Regions from separate parts of the Homo sapiens genome. Here region 1 is linked to region 2. Evidence: promoter capture Hi-C in human tissues and cell types (Jung and others, 2019). All regions are on one chromosome and are shown on one strand. Each heading gives the region's core, a stretch centred on a gene start or on the middle of the fragment in contact. The rest is flanking DNA. Distances are from core to core; before and after follow the strand shown.

Evidence for each region. The method cuts DNA at HindIII sites, captures the fragments that hold promoters and counts their contacts. A contact is called where the count stands out against the background at its distance.
Region 1: a contact is called between a fragment that was not itself captured here and the fragment with the promoter of TAS2R13 in region 2, in 1 of the 25 tissues and cell types used here (mesenchymal stem cells).

Annotation. Positions count from the first base shown.
Region 1 is chr12:11,947,333-11,951,273 of GRCh38, reverse strand. No RefSeq gene overlaps it. Among named protein-coding and RNA genes, the nearest start is that of BCL2L14, 120 kb to the left of the region's middle. RefSeq lists an enhancer at 666-1,450. The HindIII fragment of the contact is 4,348 bases long and covers 1-3,941 here.
Region 2 is chr12:10,907,007-10,911,427 of GRCh38, reverse strand. It overlaps TAS2R13 (taste 2 receptor member 13), which reads left to right and starts at 1,866. Exons shown (of 1, transcript NM_023920.2): 1 at 1,866-3,502. The coding sequence starts at 2,130. The coding sequence ends at 3,041. The region is part of intron 4 of PRH1-PRR4 (PRH1-PRR4 readthrough); the gene reads left to right. It also overlaps a transcript of PRH1 not described here. The HindIII fragment of the contact is 21,748 bases long and covers 1-4,421 here.

The DNA.
Region 1 (3,941 bases), core at 595-3,094, 1.0 Mb before region 2:
TTAACACACCCGGGAAGTATCAAATGGTATTTGATAACTAAAGGAATTTGTTTACCTTGCACAATGTATTTAAGTTAGTGAAATTCCACTGTTGATTTCATTTGGTCCAACCCCAACACCACTGATTTTCTTCTCCACTGTTTCTGTATCCTCATTCACTCAACCCGTCCCAACTCTTAAGCTGTTTGAACCCAGTTACCTTTAATTCTGACTTCTGAGTTATAATTACTTGCATTTGCTGTCTGCCTTCATAATTATTAAATATTCTCAACATTATCTTGTTTAATCCTCAGAAGATGAGCCAATGATTAAACAGTATCATCCCCATTTTATAGAGGCAGAAAGGGAAGCTTGTGCAGGTTAAGTGAGTTTGCACAAGATTACAGCCAAAAAGGAGCCAAGCCATTTGACAAGGGTGTTCTCATTTCTGACTTTTTCCATTATGCTCCAGCTGTCCCCTCTTATCTCATCAAAGTCATCCTCATCAGCTACTATATAAGGGCATTTGCCTAGTAAGTCTTCATCTATTTCTCTTTATTTCTGTTCCTCCTGGTTTTCACTCCTAGCTTTCCCTGACTGTTCCAGCCATTTGCACTCCCAAGACCAGCTTTAGCCGATTTACCTTATTACATCCCAAAAAGGAAGAAGCCTTGGTGATTGGGTCTGGTTGTCCACCTATTTTCCCAGCTTTTAACCCAGACATCTTTGCCATGATCATGACTATTATTTCAGAACTTGGAGGACACTCTTCAATTACCTGCATTTCCTCTGGCAGAGCTGACAGACCATCCGTATGGGTAGAGTGCTCTTTGCCTCAATTGTAATAAAAATTTTAATTATTCATCAGTACAGTAGCTGTTAGACAAATGCCCAATTATTATTCATCCATAGCTAAGTAACCTTCTGCTCTTTTTTGGAACAGTGACAAGCGCAGCCCTGCCAGAACTGGCAGAGGGCACAGATCAAAGAGTGCTTTGTGCCTTGCTTTTACCAGGAAAGAGAAGGAGAGCCAGAGCTTCCTGCTGGTGCCCCGGCCTCCTCCCTCACCTGTCCCCCAATGCAGCTCCCTCCAAGCCCAACAGCCCCGAGTCAGGAAAGCTGGGAGCAGGGGAGACTTGGAGTCCCCGCCAGCAGGCTGCAGCTGTGGGGCACTGGGCACGGCCAGGTCACCTGGCAGAGGCTCTGGGTGGAACAGCTGCAGGGGGCTTGTTGCCAAAGAAGTGACAAAATTGCAAACGAGGGTTTGGAGAGTGGCTTTTGCTTAGACATACACTGTGGCTGATTTTCCTTCACAATAGGTGGCACCTCCCTGCCCTTCCCCTGCAGGCCCAGGTGACCAGGCCAGCAAAGTCGTGAAGGAGGACGTCTCCTCAGGTGGCAGCCCTTCCCTCCCTGCTTCTGGTTTCTCCTTCCAGTGACTCTTCCTTGTGAAGCTCCTCCTCCGGCTCACCAAAGCATCAGAACCTTTAGGCTGACCCAGATCTCAGGGATGGGGGCTTTTCCTGGCTGGACAGCTTTCCTAGTTTCCACTGTGCTACCTTTTCCTCTCAAAACGTAGCAGGAGGCAGCTCTTGGCCAGAGAGACTCATGCCCTCTGCCTACTCTCCAGAAAGCCTTTCTGCACATTCTAAGAGGCACCCAGGCTTTGCCATATCCCCTCTCATCTTCCATCCTGAGACCTTGTGGAACTTGCTGCCGGCGGCTTCCACATGGAACCTCAGCCCTTCCCCAGAATGGGTCTCCCACAGGGCAGCCCCTTCTGGCTGCTGCAGACCCCAGGGGTCTGTGCCTGTGGGACCCTCACACCACTACACTCAGCCTATCCAAACCACTCTGCTGCCACCTCCTTGTCCTTTCTGCAACACACCTTTCTCCCGAGGAGCACCCCCGTGTCACTTTCTCACCTCAGGGTTCCCATCCTCCCTTTCTCGGTCATGTCACCTCCCTCCCCTTTAACCTGCCATGGCTTTCCACCTTCAGCTGTAAAAGCTGAAGTCTTTACAATGCGCCTACGTGGTTGGCCCCCCAGTTACACTCCAACGAATACAAATTCTACTTTCCTCCTCCTCCCTCTCTCTTCGGCAGCTCCACAGGTAAAACCTGATCCTGCCTCAGGGTGTTTGCACTTGCTGCTCTCAGACTTGAAAACTCTTCACACAGATATTCACTGTCTTACTCCTTCATCTTCCATGTTCATTCTATACAGAGTAATGCCCAGCCGCTCCTCACCCCACCAACCTAATCTTTTTATGGCCTTGTTACCTCAATATATCATTTATTTATTTTTTGTTTATTGTCCACCTCCCTCTAGTAGAAGCTAAGTAAGCTTCATGAGAATAGAGACTTTGTTTTTGTTCACAGATAGTGGAGTGCTGTGGACTGAGTTGTGTCCCTCCCCTCCCCAATCATGCATTGAAGCCCACTGAGGAGCTCCTCAGCTGGCACCACCATTTCTGACAATTCCAGAGCTGACTGCCTGGGAAGAAACAGAGGCACCCAGGGCCTCTTGGCCTCTCGGTGTCTCTTCAAAGTCAAAGAATATTTGTGGTGGGAACGAGATGACGGGGAGTCAGAAGGATGGGAGCTGTGGTCACAGCATGAAGCACAGGGGTCCAAGAGTTCTGGGGGGAGGCTCAGGCTGGAGATAACAAGTTGGGTTGCCCAATGTGATGGTGTTTGGAGAGGGGGTCTTTAGGAGGTGATTAGGTTCAGATGAGGTCGTAAGAGTAGGACCCTCATGGTGGGATTAGTGTCCTTATAAGAAGAGACACCAGAGAGCTCATATGTGCTCTCTCTCTCTGCCCCGACCTCAGGCGAGGACACAGTGAGAAGGTGGCCATCACCAGACCCCAGCCATGCTGGCTGACACCCTGATCTCCGACTTCCAGACTCCAGAACTGATATGGTTTGGGTCTGTCTCCCCACCCAAATCTCATGTAGAATTGCAATTCCCAGTGTTGGAGGTGGGCCTGGTGGGAGGTGACTAGATCATAGGGGCGGGTTCTCATGAATGGTTTAACACCACCACCCCCCCCACTTGGTACTCTCTTTGGGATAGTGAGGGAGTTCTCGTCAGATCTGGTTGTTTAAAAGTGTGCAGCACCTCCTCCTCCCTCTCTCTCTTGCTCCTGCTCCCTCCATGTGGGACCTGTCGCTCCTGCTTTGCCTTCCAGCATGGTTGGAAGCTTCCTAAAGCCTCCCCAGAAGCAGAAGCCGCTATGCTTCCTGTACAGCCTGCAGAACTGTGAGCCAATTAAACCTCTTTCCTTTATAAATTACCCAGTCTCAGGTATTCCTTTAAAGCAGTGCGAGAATGGACTCTTACAAGAACTATGAAAAATAAATTCCTATTGTTTAAGCCATGGTATTTCGTTCTGGCAGCCTGAGCCAACTAAGACATGGAGGTTCATTATTGGTTTAAATAAATAAATATTTGCTTAAATGAACAAATTGATGTTCCAGGTAGCAAGGGGCCAGGAGAGGAAAGCTAGACTGTTGTGGTTGTCGCTTGTTTGCTCCCATGGCTACTCTGCCCCTGTGTGAAGTCGTCCGAGGCTATTACCACCTGGCTCTACCTCCTCTCATTGTCACCTACTGTTTCCTTGTGATTCTCTCACTGAGGCTTCATTCTTCATTTTCTTCCACTCAATTTTTAATACCCCTATAGATGATCTGCCTCTCAAACTGCTTCCTCAGTTTCAAGATCTTATCACCACTGCACTCCACCCTCCCACAGGACTTGCTATCCCACGCTGAGGATCCCCCCAGAAGTCTTACACCCCGTGCTTCATGCTGTGACCACAGCACCCATCCTTCTGACTCCCCGTCATCTTGTTCCCACCACACAAGCTGTTTGACTTTGAAGAGACTCCGAGAGGCCGAGAGGCCCTGGTTCCTTCTGTTTCCTCCCAGGCAGTCAGCTCTGGAGTTGTCACAAATGG
Region 2 (4,421 bases), core at 617-3,116:
AGTGAGAGACTACATCTCTTTGATTAAATTTATATTTTTAAATGTTTTCTCTTATGGAAACACACCAGGAAAATGCAGCTCAGAACCGCAAGCCTGTTATCCATTCTCTATGTCTTTGTCATGTGTTATATCACAAGTTCTAAAAACTGTGGTATTTTTTCATATACCAGCAAGTACAGTACCATTCCTCAGGCCTATTTGTACAGATTTGGGGTATTATCAAGTTGTGACCGGCATCCCCAAACCCTTTTCTCTAGATAGGTAGGAAGAACACCCTAAAATGAAAAAGTATAAAAGATCTCTTCAGCCCTGGGTCAAGAATGCAAATGGAAGACCACATGCCACATAGCTACATATTTAAAGGTCATAAATATACAAACCTAACAAACTGTTAAAGGAGACATTTTCTATTCTATCTTGACAAATATACCATTATAACAACAAAATAGAAAATATCTACCTATTTTAAGTTATAATTGAAACTTGCAAATCATTAAAGATGATGCAATTATTTTGTAAATTTTTTAGTACTCTGTAGATCACCCAATAAAGATTGCATGAGTAATAAAATACAAACATTCATAATTCACAAATTATATCTTTATTAAATAAAAATAGCTTTGTATTCATCTAGCTAAATGGCTACTTATTATCTTATAATCAAGATAAAGTGTTTTATTTATATTAATTTTGAATTAGACAATCTTTCTTGAGTCTCCACGTTTTCAGAATTTTGGTAATCCACTTTTTTTCGGTAGTTTTTGAAAGAGTGGGGCGGGGTGAGGAACCTTGACTCTTCACAATGAACACATTAGTCCCCGCTTATCTGCAGTTTCAGTGACCCAAGGTCAACCACAGTCCAAAAATAGGTGTGTACAGTACAGTAAGGTATCTTGAGAGAGTGAGAGACACCACACTATATATTTTAACACATTTTTTTACTTTTTATTTTTTTAATTTTTATTTATTTTAGATACAGGGTCTCCCTATGTTGCCCAGGCCGGTCTCAAACTTTTGGGCTCGAGCGGTCCTCCCGCCTCAATCTCCCAAATTGCTAGGATTACAGGGATGAGCCACAACCCCTGGCAACTTTTATTATAGTATATTGTTTTAATTGTTCTATTTTATTATTAGTTATTTTTGTAATCTTTTACTGTGCTTGATTTACAAATTAAACTTTATCATAGGTAGGTGAATACAGGAAAAAAATATATTGTATATAGAGTTTGGTACTATCTGCTGTTTTAGGCATCCACTGGGGGTCTTGGGACATAGGCCTCATGGATAAGGGGAACTAGTGTATCTATTTCTTTGCTTGGTTTTCAGTTTTGCAAGTTATGATGTAATATAGTACTGCTTTCTTTGGTAGCTGTTGCTGATTTTGTAAAATTTGTTTTTTTATCACTTTTAAGTTTAAAAAAGAAATATGAGGGGAAAAGCGGATAAAATGTGAAGGCATTTGGTGCCTATGGAGGGATGGTGGTGAGCACTGCTAAGTAGTGATGAGGCAGGGAATGAGAAAGATGGATGCTTTGTAAACGAGTTTCTCTTTAGTCACAGTATTGACCAGATCCAGCTTTAGCTCCACAAGAAATTGAGCACTCTTTTGAAATAGCATAGGTAAGTCTTTGCATATTTTATAAAGCTTCATTGGCTATGCTATTAGCCATAAAAGCTTCATTTAGCTACATATTCTATGAATCAGATTTTTATAATATTTGTACCTCAGAACTCAAGCTGGTTGAATCTAATTTTCTATGCTCAGACAAGGCAAAAAAGTACAAAACAATGAAAGAGAATATATCTTTATTTGCATGGTTGCAAATGTGAGTTTAACTTTGCTGCATAATCATCTATGAAATATTTCTGCCCATGGTGAAGACATAAATATCTTAGCTAGGGCTCAGCAGAGAAATTGAAGAAAAATAAAGATATCACCAGAACAGTTATGTGAAGATCGATCAGCAAACTTTAGAGATTTCTGCTTTGACGTTGAGCCAACAATGAAAGAAGGAGCAGAAAAAGGAGAAGGAAGAAGAACTCCACTGGACACTCAAGGATGTGAATAGCATTTTAGATCAGTGAATAACCAGCAGTGACATTAGACATTGAACTTTCTCTGTTCTGACATGGAAAGTGCCCTGCCGAGTATCTTCACTCTTGTAATAATTGCAGAATTCATAATTGGGAATTTGAGCAATGGATTTATAGTACTGATCAACTGCATTGACTGGGTCAGTAAAAGAGAGCTGTCCTCAGTCGATAAACTCCTCATTATCTTGGCAATCTCCAGAATTGGGCTGATCTGGGAAATATTAGTAAGTTGGTTTTTAGCTCTGCATTATCTAGCCATATTTGTGTCTGGAACAGGATTAAGAATTATGATTTTTAGCTGGATAGTTTCTAATCACTTCAATCTCTGGCTTGCTACAATCTTCAGCATCTTTTATTTGCTCAAAATAGCGAGTTTCTCTAGCCCTGCTTTTCTCTATTTGAAGTGGAGAGTAAACAAAGTGATTCTGATGATACTGCTAGGAACCTTGGTCTTCTTATTTTTAAATCTGATACAAATAAACATGCATATAAAAGACTGGCTGGACCGATATGAAAGAAACACAACTTGGAATTTCAGTATGAGTGACTTTGAAACATTTTCAGTGTCGGTCAAATTCACTATGACTATGTTCAGTCTAACACCATTTACTGTGGCCTTCATCTCTTTTCTCCTGTTAATTTTCTCCCTGCAGAAACATCTCCAGAAAATGCAACTCAATTACAAAGGACACAGAGACCCCAGGACCAAGGTCCATACAAATGCCTTGAAAATTGTGATCTCATTCCTTTTATTCTATGCTAGTTTCTTTCTATGTGTTCTCATATCATGGATTTCTGAGCTGTATCAGAACACAGTGATCTACATGCTTTGTGAGACGATTGGAGTCTTCTCTCCTTCAAGCCACTCCTTTCTTCTGATTCTAGGAAACGCTAAGTTAAGACAGGCCTTTCTTTTGGTGGCAGCTAAGGTATGGGCTAAACGATGAGAAACTCACAATTTCATAAGCCATTCAGACCACAGATTATTGAATATTGCAGACAGAAACAGGAGTCTACAAGGAGTTTAAAAGATATTTTATGCTTCCCCTGGTTTCTTTTATTGTGAAGGTCACTGTAAATGTTTTAAATTCTTCTCTATAATAGCATCTTACCTAAGAATATTATGTATTTATGACATGTATTTCTACATTATTAGGAATTTGAAACTTATTTGAGGAAATTATTGGCAGATTCTATTGTAAATTAAAAACATATACTACAGCATACTTAGATGTTAATTGTAAATCTACAATCTTTTGTTTGGCAATGGCTCTTCAATTCTAAATCATTCATTGAGATGGGTGATTTAGGTAATTATTTTATTATCTCAAGTACTCCTATTTAAATGGTGAGCTACAGATAATTAGAACAGTTATTTGGAATAGAATTAGGGAAGTTTGGACTTGCCACTATTACTATACTGATGTGTTGAGAGAATTGAGAGGGTTAAAAAGTTTAATATGAGTAACTGCCACATAAAAAGATAACGGTTTTTTAGTAATTATATTGTATGTATGTGTACATACATATTTTACATTATGCCTTTTAAAGTAAATATTATTGAGGTATAATTTACATATAATAAAATGCAACATGTTAGTCCACATTTCAGTTAGAGTTTTGACAATGTATACACTTGTGTGACCACAATGTCAGTGCCCTTTGCAGTTTACCCTCTCCCCTCCAGCCCTTTTTCCCAAGCAACTACTTATCTGCTTTTGGTAACAATAAGAGAGTTTTTGATTTCTAGAATTTTATGCATCTATATATCTATAGATATAGATATATAGATGCCATATATACACACACACACACACACATACAGTTATAGAGTGTGTATTGTTATATGTGAGGCTTCTTTAACTCAGCATAATGTTTTTGAAGTTCTTCTGTTTTGTTGTATTAATCAGTAGTTTGTTCCTGAGCAGTGTTCCTGAGTAGTGTTGGATATACCACATTAAAAAATTTCTCTTTCCTGTTAATGAACATTCAAATGGTTTTCAATTATTGGCCATTATAAATAAAACTGATATCAACATTCATGTATTTCTCTTCTTCTGGATATACAATTTCCTCACTCTTGAGTAAATACCTATGAGTAAAAATGTCAAATCATATGATAAGTGTATGTTTAACTTAAGAAAAAACTGCCAGAGTTCTATAGAGTGGTTGCACCATTTCATACTATTGCCAGCAATATACGAGTGTTTCAGTTATTTCACATTCTGGCCAACAGTTGGTAGGTACTCTGTTTTGTTTTCTATTTTGGCCATTCTAGTCAGAATGTAATGGCATCTCATCATAGTTTTAATTCACATTTTCCTAAT